Linked DNA regions of Homo sapiens: regions 1, 2 and 4 are each linked to region 3. The links are contacts of gene promoters, found by promoter capture Hi-C in blood cells and fetal thymus (Javierre and others, 2016). All regions are on one chromosome and are shown on one strand. The core of a region is centred on a gene start or on the middle of the fragment in contact, and the rest is flanking DNA. Distances in the headings are between cores, read along the strand shown. Region 1 overlaps XPO1 (exportin 1). Region 2 overlaps USP34 (ubiquitin specific peptidase 34). Region 3 holds the start of REL (REL proto-oncogene, NF-kB subunit). Region 4 overlaps USP34 (ubiquitin specific peptidase 34).

Region 1 (2,700 bases), core at 39-2,538, 610 kb after region 3:
TCCTGCCTCAGCCTATCGAGTAGCTGGGAGTACAGGCACCTGCCACCACGCCCAGCTAATTTTTTATATTTTTAGTAGAGACGGGGTGTTTCACCGTGTTAGCCAGGATGGTCTTGATTTCCTGACCTCGTGATCCACCCAACTCAGACTAATGTTTTAATCTAATGAATGCTAACTGGTGAGTATTTTCACAAGCAGAAATAACATCAATCAATTACTCTCAGAAAATAAGAAAGACTATGGATTTCTATTATTTTTTTGAAACTGAATCTTGCCATGTTGCCTAAACTGGACTTGAGCTGGGGTGATTCGCCTGCCTTACCCTCCCTGGTGGTTGGGATTACAGGTGCATGCTACAATGCCCAGTAAGATTTTCATGATTCTAAGTAAACTGAGTTATACTTAAAGAGTAACTTCTTGTTCTTTTTTTTTTTTTGAGACGAAGTTTCCCACTTGTGGCCCAGACTGGGGTGCAATGGCGCAATCTTGGCTCACTGTCACCTCCACCTCTGGGGTTCAAGTGATTCTCCTGCCTCAGCCTCCTGACTTCAAGTGATCCACCCGCCTCGGCCTCCCAAAGTGCTGGGATTACAGGCATGAGCCACCGTGAAAAGCCAAGACAAGGAAAATAAACACAATGTTTCATGTGAACAAATATCCCAAACTTTAACATTAATGTTACAAAAGATGATACCCTTTGTATTATTCCCACTGTGCTCCCGACACGTGCTCAAGCTTCTTGTAAATTACAAACATCACAATTCCTTCAATACATCTTACTTTCTGCTTTCAAATTTTAAATACAGTTCTGTTCACATAATACGCATGTTCAGAACCTTTCGATATTTAGGTTAGCCAACTTAAGTATTCCACAAGAATTATATTCAGAACAAGTTTACTGAAAAGTATTTCCTTAACAAGAAACAATACTGAAATTTCAAAACTATGAAAATAACTAGCACACTTGTAAAAAAAAAAACCAAAAAACAAAAAACCAACACTATTCCAAGTAATAGTAGTATTAGAATTTTTTGGACTCTCCCAAGGCTCAATTGAATAACAAGAATGAAACGATACAGTTAAAACCTAAAACTAATTCACAATTTTACAAGTTGAGGCATACGCAGCTGGTTTTTATTACTGAAAATGATTTCCTTTTCTGCAAATCATTTAGGAAAAAGGGTGTAAAAAAGACTTTCAGGCCTTTAATCTGGGAAGCAATCACTTTGCTAAAGAGGTAAAGTAATGACAACTTTGTAGCTCTAGCAATTGTTCTAAAAATCAAGAGGAATGCAAAAACTGCACCGGTACTCCATTAATTAAATCCTCCTAACCTATCTATGGAAACATAAAATGACCCAATTTTCTTAGCTATCTTGTTACATATCACCACCCTTCGCTACTGATTAACAGCAGTTTCTTTTGAAGATGGAATACAGCTATTAGTATATTAACGTAAGGACTACAATAAATAAAATGCCATAAAATAACCACAAAGTTGATATGCTTTAAATTAGCAAAATGCACATAATAGAGTATAGCATATTCCATAAAACACAGCATCAACACTAGAAATCAAAAGCAAAGCATCTCTCACTTACCATCTGTGGATCATTGGATCGGCTCACCCAACCAGATATTAACTTTAAAGTTTCCCTTTTTACAGTTCGCATACTTCTAATCAATGGTTGCTTTGTAACCATTTCACCTACAAAACAGAATCAAATGGAATCTAATTTTACCACTAAACTTATACAGTGGTACTCAGGTGTACATTAGATGCAATTCCATTTTACCATTAAAAAGTTTAAAGCCAAAAGTTCACAAAATTTATTGGGAAAATAAGCTTTAAGACTAATTTTAAAAGGGAAAGGTACACTTAACTGTTTTAAATATGTCTAGGGTCATTTGGGAAATGGGAGGTCTGATTTAAATCTGTAAAAAACATCAAATGTTTGACTTAAGGCAGTAGAAGAGAAGTGGTTTGTTTATACTGCATTGTGTAAGAAATCAGAATCACCTACCATTAGCTTGGATAGCTGCAGAAATATTTTCACTGAGGCACTTGTATACATTAAGCATATCTAAATAAATTCTTCCAAGCTGAATTACAAAGGGGTGTCCAACAGCTTTGCAGGCTCTCACATTTGTTTTCAAAATGCTACCAAGCTGCTTGACTGTTTCAGGATCTTTCAGTATATCCACATTCTTGGAGGAAAAAAAGCAAATTCCATTTATCATATAAGAATTATCCACGGCTGGGAACAGTGGCTCACGCCTGTAATCCCAGCACTCTGAGAGGCCGAGGCGGGCGGATGATGAGTTCAGGAGATCGGGACCATCCTGGATAACACGGTGAAACCCCGTCTCTACTAAAAATACAAAAAAAATAGCCAGGCGTGGTGGCAGCCGCCTGTAGTCCCACCTACTCGGGAGGTTGAGGCAGGAGAACGGCGTGAACGCTAGAGATGGAGTTTGCAGTGAGCCGAGATCGCACCACTGCACTCCAGCCTGGGCGAAAGAGCAAGACTCCGTCTCAAAAAAAAAAAAAGAATTATCCATCATAATGGCCAGGCGAGGTGGCTCACACCTATAATCCCAGCACTTTGGGAGGCTGAGTCGGGTGCATCACCTGAGGTCGGGAGTTCAAGACCAGCCTGACCAACATGGAGAAACCCTGTCTCTACTAAAAATACAAAA
Region 2 (2,700 bases), core at 56-2,555, 540 kb after region 3:
TATACCATAAAAATTATTTAATCTCTCAAAATAGTTACTTTTCAGAATTTCTGTGACTCTCATATCCCTAAATAAGCAGGGGTCAAAGAAAGAAACTGATATTTATGCCCATGTTTTAAAAACAGAATCATGATCGACCTCATGAGTAAAGATTTAATAAATATTGACAAACTGTCATTTAGTAACTAATGGTATCTAACCCAACACCCTAAAAAGAAAATGTGACAATAAAAATCGCAACTTATAACACAACTCACAAAAATTAGTCTTCGAAATACCTAAAGATGCATACCTCTGTGTCCAGGAATTGATATAAGTAAATATTTTGAGAGTATGTTCCTTTCTGAGCTGCAGTCCATCACCACCTTCTACATCTGATACTGAAATAAAAAAGAAATTTTAAAATTATGAATAATGCTAAACCAGTATTAAAGCCAACAGTTCAAAATAAAGCCAAGAGCTACAAATGCAAACATTTCAGATAATCATTCTTTTGCTTCCAAAGAAAATAAGTCTACTTTTAATTAATAACTCATATGGACTTAAGAACAGATTTTTGACAGATGTAAGGGGTGGGGGGGGCAGTGAGACTTTGCCACTTATTCTGGGATTATCTCTCATCTCCAAAACCAGCCTTCCGTTGTGATGCTGAGGCTGGGACCATGCAATCTACATTTTTCATTTCCAGCTGTCTTCCTGTTAAGATCTTGTTCTCCAGTGCCTATAGGGTACTAGAAGAAGAAGGCAGGAGGAGAGACCAAAGACTTGTCAGCTTGCTATATCTGAAAGCAGCAGCACTGATTCCAGCCTCCAGCTTAGTATTCCAAGAACCAGTCTCATGGTACTCCTCTCAGAGGTATCAGCAGTAGCCACAGAGCATACCTTCCTTGAAGTCACAGCTTCCTTCACACGGCGTTCCTCTTTTGATATGAGGAAGCTTGAGAACATTCAGTTCTCATTAAAAGACCATTTCCCAAAATAATAAAAATTGAACATAACCATTCTTATAATTCCATCATTTTAATGGCTTTTACCTTCTTTGGCTGGTCCACACAGCTTTACAAAGTAGAAAACATAAGGGTCTTTGAAGCCACTAAACCAATTATTATGTATGTACAAGAAAGCATTTTTGAGGCTTATCAGCTTTCTTACTGTTTCTTTATATATTGCTAGTGTCTTCTCTTTAATCCCAAGAAATCTTGCCTGGATCACTGTATCACATTAACGTGAGGAGGGGAAATCCCCTATGAAGCAGTAATATGTCCTACTATACCAGTAAGTTTCCTGTACCAAATATATATGAGGTTAGTTTACATTTAAAACACACACACACACACACACACACGCGCGCGCGCGCACCTTCTACTTAATCAGACTACATACACAATGTTGAGACTTACAGCACACTTCCTCAACTCAGCTCCAGAAATGCTGGTAAGCTGAACTAGGAGGTTGGAAGATTCCTCTCTGGTAATACTGATTAACCAAAAAGGGGTTTAAAAAAAAATTACCTTGGTCAAGGAGAAAAGGAAACGGCGTAAGGCCAAAATACATGTAAAACAGTCACAAGGTAGTAACACCTACACCCAAGACCAGGCTTTTGGGACCTAGATCACATCTGAGGCCCTGGAAGCCGAAGACACTACTGACCATCAGGGAGAAGACCTGGGCAACAAAGCTTAGCAACTAGGACAGAATAAGATATAGTTGGGGCCTAAGATGAAGCAACCACTAAAAACAACCTCTTGCATTGTATGATTTCAACAAGGTGAAGAAGGGATCACAGTACGCCATGCCAGTTTTCCTTCCCCAGCCATAACAGTGCCTAAAAACAGAGGGAAGAGTGGCTACAACCATCATATCCTACTCTAACAAAAAACACACACGGCACACATTCTGAAAAAAAGTTTGTGTGGCCAGAAAACCATCCTCACCAGAGGCCCGCCTGACAGCCTAGCTGCTAACCAACAAAAACTTTCCAACTCATTCCATCCAACCCAGAACCAGAAAGGCAAGTGAAGGACATTTCATCAGAGTAGAGTTCTCCAAACACACAGCTATCATCATACTCAAAGGTGAAAGCCCAAAAGCTTTTCCTCTAAGATTAGGACCAAGATAAGGTGGTCACTTTCACAATTTCTATTCAACACAGTATTAGAAATTCTAGTCAGAGCAATTCAATGAGGAAGAAAATGGAAAGAAATCAAGTCACTTCTGTCCACAGATAACATGAACCAACAGAAAACCCTAAGGATTACACAAGAAGAACTGTTAGAACTAACAGCCGGTAATCCCAGCACTTTGGAAGGCCAAGGCGGGCAGATCACTTGAGCTTAGGAGGTCAAGACCAGCCTGAGCAGCATAGTGAAACCCCATCTCTACGAAAAATATAAACAATTAGCCAGGCATGGTGGTGCACACCTCTGGTCCCAGCTACTGAGGAGGCTGAGGTGGAAGGATCACTCGAACCTGGAAGGTTAAGGCTGAAGTGAGCCGAAAAAAATCAGTGGCTTCCATTAAACTGCAGTTTGCATTTCAGCATTCCAACCTGGGTAACAGAGTGAGACCCCCTCTCAAAAACAAACAAACAAAAAATAAGTGAATTCAACAAAGTTACAGGATACAAATTCAAAACACAAAAATCAGATATACTTTTGTCTTTTTAAATTTTTGGTTTTTTGAGACAGTCTCACTCTTTTG
Region 3 (2,700 bases), core at 19-2,518:
CATCATGGTACGTTTTAGTACATATCCAATAATAAAACTGTTTCATTCTTTTGTTGTACATTGCGCATTTCGTGGAAAGAACAGTTTGGGGTTGGCAGGATATTTTAAATTATTTGCCCATATGGGTCCCCCAGTTTTGGGCACTTGTATGGCAGGCTGATATTCCCCATTACCTCTCCGTACTAATTTTAACTAGTAAGGGACAGGGGCAAGGGCATGGAGCTTTGGAGTCAGACAACCCTGGCTTTAAACTGTGCCTTTTATCAGCATTCTGAAGTACTGTATGTTGAAGTAACTTCTCTGAACCCCGAATACTTCATCTATAAAGTTAGGAATAATAAATACGTCATAGATTAAGTATGGACATTATCTGATGCATAGCAGGTACTATTCAAATGAAGGAAACGAAGTTATCCTAGGTCCTTTAATGCACTAAATGTGTGCTCCATTTCCGCCTTTCTTGGCATCTGTGTGAAATCTCAGGATATAGTGTCCACTAAACTTCAGTGCACTGCCTAATGAGACAACGAACTCCAAGTGCGGACCTTTTGAGTTTAAACGGGTTTCAGTAGGTAAAATACGTAAAGTTCACAGTACCCTCGCAATTTAGATGGAGGAAAAAAAATCAGTCGGGGGGGGGGTCCCCGTATGCAAATACAGGAATTACAGAAGAAGACAGGACCCCCGCCGCAGCACCACTTCCCCCTACAGGGCGCAACGTCCCGCCGCTGGCGCGGGGGTGGAGATTTGCATGTGCGAAGTCGGGAAGAGGGGGAACCACCTCTCGAAAACCCCGGCCGTCGCCCTCCCAGGCCGGGAGAGTCGGCCCCGCGCGCCCCCAAAAGCTCCCCAGCGGCCGGCCCTCTCTACGTCATCCGCACCCTCCCGCCCGCTCCTGAACTTTAAACCACACTCGGAAGAACAACCTGGAGGAGGGGGATTTCTCAGGAGCCAGCGGCCTTCTCACGCTGCTAGCCGTCACCTCCCGGCTCCCGCCGTTCCCTGCGCTCCCGAAGCCCACCCCAAGCTCCCGCTCCCTCGACCCCCTCCCAAGCCAGCCGCCGCAGCAGCGCCGGGGGCGTATGCGTGGGGGCCGGCGGGGAGCGTGCGCGGGGACAGGCAGGGGCGGGGCGCTGGGGGCGGTCGCGCGCGCGGCGGCCGCGAGGTCGCCCCGCCCACGCCTCCGGGTGAGGGTTGCTGCGTCGGGCCTACGTCAGCCGCGGGAAATTCCCCTCCCGCCAGGCTGCTCGCCTCTCGGCTGGGCCAGCACTCGGCTCTCCCCGCTCCGCCCCCTGCCCCTGGCTCCCGTACGGTGGACGGCGACGCTGGGTGACCCGGGGTGCAAGAATTCAGGGGTTGGGAAGGTGTGAGCCGCAAACCCAGCGGAGGGCGGGAAGAAGGAGGAGGCCTCTAGGGTGGTCGGGGGACTGGGGGCCCCGCCGGCAGAGGTCCCTCGGCCTCCTGACTGACTGACTGCGGCCGCCTCCGGCCAGGACGCTGGGAGCTGCCTGCGGGAAGGTGCGGGGAGCGGAGCCATGGCCTCCGGTGAGTGTTCATGGGGCGCGGGCCTGGGCCGGGGGAAAGGAGCTCTTCTGAAGGGGGTCCTGCCGCAGTGAGTTTAGGGAGCTCAGTTTTTGCTGGGGCGCGTTCTGTCTTTAAAATCTCATATGGTAAAATTGTCAGCTTTTAAAAAAGTTACCTGCTTCAGGGTTTGCGTGCAGAATCCAAGCCACGCTCTGTAATTCGATCCTGTTGTCATAGCAGGAACCTTAGAAATTCCCAACGACTTGATTTTAGGATTAGGGAAGTCATAAGCGAACCAAAGGAGGACGAAGAGTTCTCATTAAAAATGTATATGTATTGAAGATGGTGGTTTTATGTTTTAGAACAGGAATGAGGAACCTTCAGACCTCGGGCAAGCTCTCTCCCCCTTTTTAGTTTAATTTCATCAAATGCAAAGAGGTGATCCCCCTTGTACTGACAGTTGTACAAAATGTGTCACGGCTTTAAAAATCATCCGTGGTATTTTAACACGAATTAGAAAATCCGTGGTATTTTAAGTGTTAATGTTGCTTCGACCAAGTGTAGGCCGGGCGCGGTGGCTCATGCCTGTATTCCCAGCACTTTGGGAGGCCGAGGCGGGTGGATAACCAGAGGTCAGGAGTTTGAGACCAGCCTGGCAAACATGGTGAAACCCCGTCTCTACTAAAAATACAAAAATCAGCGGGGCGTGGTGGCGCGCGCCTGTAATCCCAGCTACTCGGGAAGCTGAGGCAGGAGAATCGCTTGAACCTGGGAGGTGGAGGTTGCAGTGAGCCGAGATCGCGCCCCTGCACTCCAGCCTGGGCGACAGAGGGAGACCCTGTCTCTATTTAAAAAAAAAAAAAATGTAGTTTTTACTGTGAGATAAAGCTCAAGGTTCCTAATCTGACGAATAGAGACGTTGAATCCCCCTTCCTCCTCGCTGGAAATAAGGGGAAAGAGGAGTTTTAGAATATCCGAGCTTTAAAATAATGAGTAGGAATGAATACAACTTTATCACTTATGTGACTATATATTTTCCCTTAATAAATGCTCGATCTCTCCCTTTGGGGGGGAATAAGTTTGTAAGAAACATTGCAGAGCAAGAAAGTCTCCTATATACACAGATGTGGTTGGGGCTGCCTGGAGCTTAAGGTTGAGGGGGACGGGAGAGCCGGG
Region 4 (2,700 bases), core at 98-2,597, 580 kb after region 3:
TGAAATCTGAAATACAGAAAAAAAAACATACAATTCATTAAATAACAAAAATATGAATGGTTAAATTTACTAGTAATTGCTTAATACATTCTCTACCAAAATAACTTTTATTTTAAGAGATGAAGTCTTGCTATGTTGCCCAGGCTAGCCTTGAATTCCAGGGCTCAAGTGATCCTCCCACCTCAGCCTCCTGAGTAGCTGGGAATACTACAGGCACACATCACCATGCCCTGCTAAAATAACACTTTCTAAAGGATAATATTCAAGACAGGTGAAAGTGCCCTTACACAGGCACGACTACGACTAAAAGATCAATATATCCTTTCTGGCAAGCAAACAGTATGAAAATAATGAAAAATGTTTATATTTTTTGACACAGTAAACTCACGTCTAGAAATCTAAAAGAACCAGGGATGTAGATAAAAGATTTAAGTAGAAAGATGTACATTTGCGGCATTATTCATAATATGGGAGAACTGGAAACAGATATATTAAATTTTATATAAAATGAAATCTTATACAAAAACATGTTTTCAGCCAGACGCGGTGGCTCACACCTGTAGTCACAGCATTTTAGGGGGCCGAGGTGGGCAGATCATGAGGTCAGGAGTTCAAGACCAGCCTGGCCAACATGGTGAAACCTCATCTCTACTAAACGTAACAAAAATTAGTCAGGCATGGTGGCAGTTGCCTGTAATCACAGCTACCCAGGAGGTTGAGGCAGGAAAATCGCTTGAACCCGGGAGGCGGAGGTTGCAGTGAGCCAAGATCAGGCCATCGCACTCCAGCCTGGGGCAACAGAACAAGACTCCATCTCAGGGGGAAAAAAAAAAAAAAGAAAATCAGCCAGGCGTGGTGGCTCATGCCTGTAATCCCAGCAGTTTGGGAGGCCGAGGTGGGTGAATCACTTGAGGCTAGGAGTTTGAGAACAGCCTGGGCAAAACAGTGAAGCCCCATTCCTACAAAAAACACAAATATTAGCTGGGCATGGTGGTACGCACCTGTAATCCCAGCTACTTGGGAAGCTGAGGCAGGAGAATTGCTTGAACCCAGGAAGAGGAGGTTGAAGTGAGCCAAGATCATGCCACTGCACTCCAGCCTGGGCCACAGAGTAAGACTCCGTCTCCAAAAAAAAAAAAAAAATCAATTCAGGAGAACCGGACAAAGTAGCTCACACCCTGTAATCCCAGCACTCTGGGAGGCTGAGGCAAGCGGATCACTTGAGGCCAGGAGTTTGAGACCAGCCTGACCAACATGGCGAAACCCCATCTCTACTAAATATACAAAAATTAGCCCGGCATGATGGCACATGCCTATAATCCCAGCTACTTGGGAGGGTGAGGCACAAGAACTGCTTGAGCCCCCCAAGGCAGAGGGTGCAGTGAGCCGAGACTGTACCAATGCACTCCAGCCTGGGAGACAGAGGGAAACTGTTTCCCAAAAAAAAAAAAAAAAAGGCAGCCAGGTGTGCTGGTATACACACCTATAGTCCCTGCTACTCAGGAGGGTGAGACAGGAAAATCACTTGAGCCCAGGAGGTCAAGTTATAGTAAGCAATAATCACTTCATTGCACTCCAGCCTGGATGACAGAATAAGACTCCATCTCCAAAGGGGGGAAAAAAATTCCAACTTTAGATTAAATGTCTACTGAAAAAGTTATGTTACTAATTGATTTCGTACCTATATACTCATAGTATCTAAAAAGCTCTGGAAACATGTAGTTTTATTAAACGGTTCACTGCAGAATAACAGTATTAAGAAAGATTCTCAGCCGGGTACAGCATACCCCAACACTTTGGGAGGCTGAGGCAGGAGCATCACTTGAGCCCAGGAGCTTGAGGCTGCAGTGAGCTATAATTGGGCCACTGCACCCCAGCATGGGTGATACACTGTCTCTTAAAAAATAATCAAAAATCAAAAAATTTGAAATTTTATTCAATGAAAAAGATTCTTATTCAGCTATACTTATTACCACTTTTGAATTCCTACTACAATTATCACAGAAATTTGTCTGAATTTTTGAAGATACATAAAACACGGTCAGTAATTTTCACTTTGCCAACTGAACAGTGGTGATTCAGATAGATCATCATAAAATTTATACAATGTTAACTAGTAAGAACTTTTAGGCCAGGCAGGATGGCTCACACCCCTAAACCCAACACTTTGGGAGGCCAAGGGAGGCGGATTACCTGGGGTCAGGAATTCAAGACCATCCTGGCCAACATGGTGAAACCCCACATCGACTAAAATTACAAAAATTAGCCAGGCATGGTGGTGCATGCCTGTAATCCCAGCTACTCAGGAGGCTGAGGCAGGAGAATCGCTTGAACCCAGGAGGCGGAGGTTGCAATGAGCCGAGATCATGCCATTGCACACCAGCCTGGGCAACAGGAACAAAATTCCTTTTCAAAAAAAAAAAAAACTCTTAGCCTAATCTGGGATTAAGTCCTGTGGTTCCACCAAACAGTCACATGTGACCCTAAGCAAGTCACATAAATTCTCTAAACCTTAGTTCCCTCATCTGAAAAGGATGACAGAGTACCTCCCTCAAAGAACTGATTAAATCAGCAGCATGCAAAGCATGTAAAGTACTTAAGTACCCAACACAAACTATTCAATAAAGTAATCTGCTTTAAAAATAAAACACACTGAAAGGCCGAGGCAGGTGGATCACCTGACATCATTAGTTCAAGACC

The links. The method cuts DNA at HindIII sites, captures the fragments that hold promoters and counts their contacts. A CHiCAGO score of 5 or more calls a contact.
Region 1: a fragment that was not itself captured here is called in contact with the fragment with the promoter of REL in region 3 in 2 of 17 cell types (total B cells and total CD4 T cells); the score reaches 5.3 in total B cells.
Region 2: a fragment that was not itself captured here is called in contact with the fragment with the promoter of REL in region 3 in 1 of 17 cell types (total B cells); the score reaches 6.0 in total B cells.
Region 4: a contact is called between a fragment that was not itself captured here and the fragment with the promoter of REL in region 3, in 2 of 17 cell types (activated CD4 T cells and non-activated CD4 T cells). The highest score is 5.6, in activated CD4 T cells.

What each region holds. Positions count from the first base shown.
Region 1 is chr2:61,486,564-61,489,263 of GRCh38, forward strand. It overlaps XPO1 (exportin 1), which reads right to left. Exons shown (of 25, transcript NM_003400.4): 18 at 2,025-2,208; 19 at 1,602-1,708. Among named protein-coding and RNA genes, the nearest start is that of USP34-DT, 17 kb to the left of the region's middle. The HindIII fragment of the contact is 1,111 bases long and covers 734-1,844 here.
Region 2 is chr2:61,420,454-61,423,153 of GRCh38, forward strand. It overlaps USP34 (ubiquitin specific peptidase 34), which reads right to left. Exons shown (of 80, transcript NM_014709.4): 2 at 293-380. Among named protein-coding and RNA genes, the nearest start is that of SNORA70B, 4.4 kb to the left of the region's middle. The HindIII fragment of the contact is 741 bases long and covers 936-1,676 here.
Region 3 is chr2:60,880,306-60,883,005 of GRCh38, forward strand. It overlaps REL (REL proto-oncogene, NF-kB subunit), which reads left to right and starts at 1,269. Exons shown (of 10, transcript NM_001291746.2): 1 at 1,269-1,545. The coding sequence starts at 1,536. REL-DT (REL divergent transcript) reads right to left here and starts at 1,009. Exons shown (of 3, transcript NR_033980.1): 1 at 927-1,009. RefSeq lists a silencer at 864-1,403 and an enhancer at 1,012-1,681. The HindIII fragment of the contact is 7,860 bases long and covers 1-2,700 here.
Region 4 is chr2:61,461,423-61,464,122 of GRCh38, forward strand. The region is part of intron 1 of USP34 (ubiquitin specific peptidase 34); the gene reads right to left. Among named protein-coding and RNA genes, the nearest start is that of USP34, 8.3 kb to the right of the region's middle. The HindIII fragment of the contact is 4,536 bases long and covers 1-2,700 here.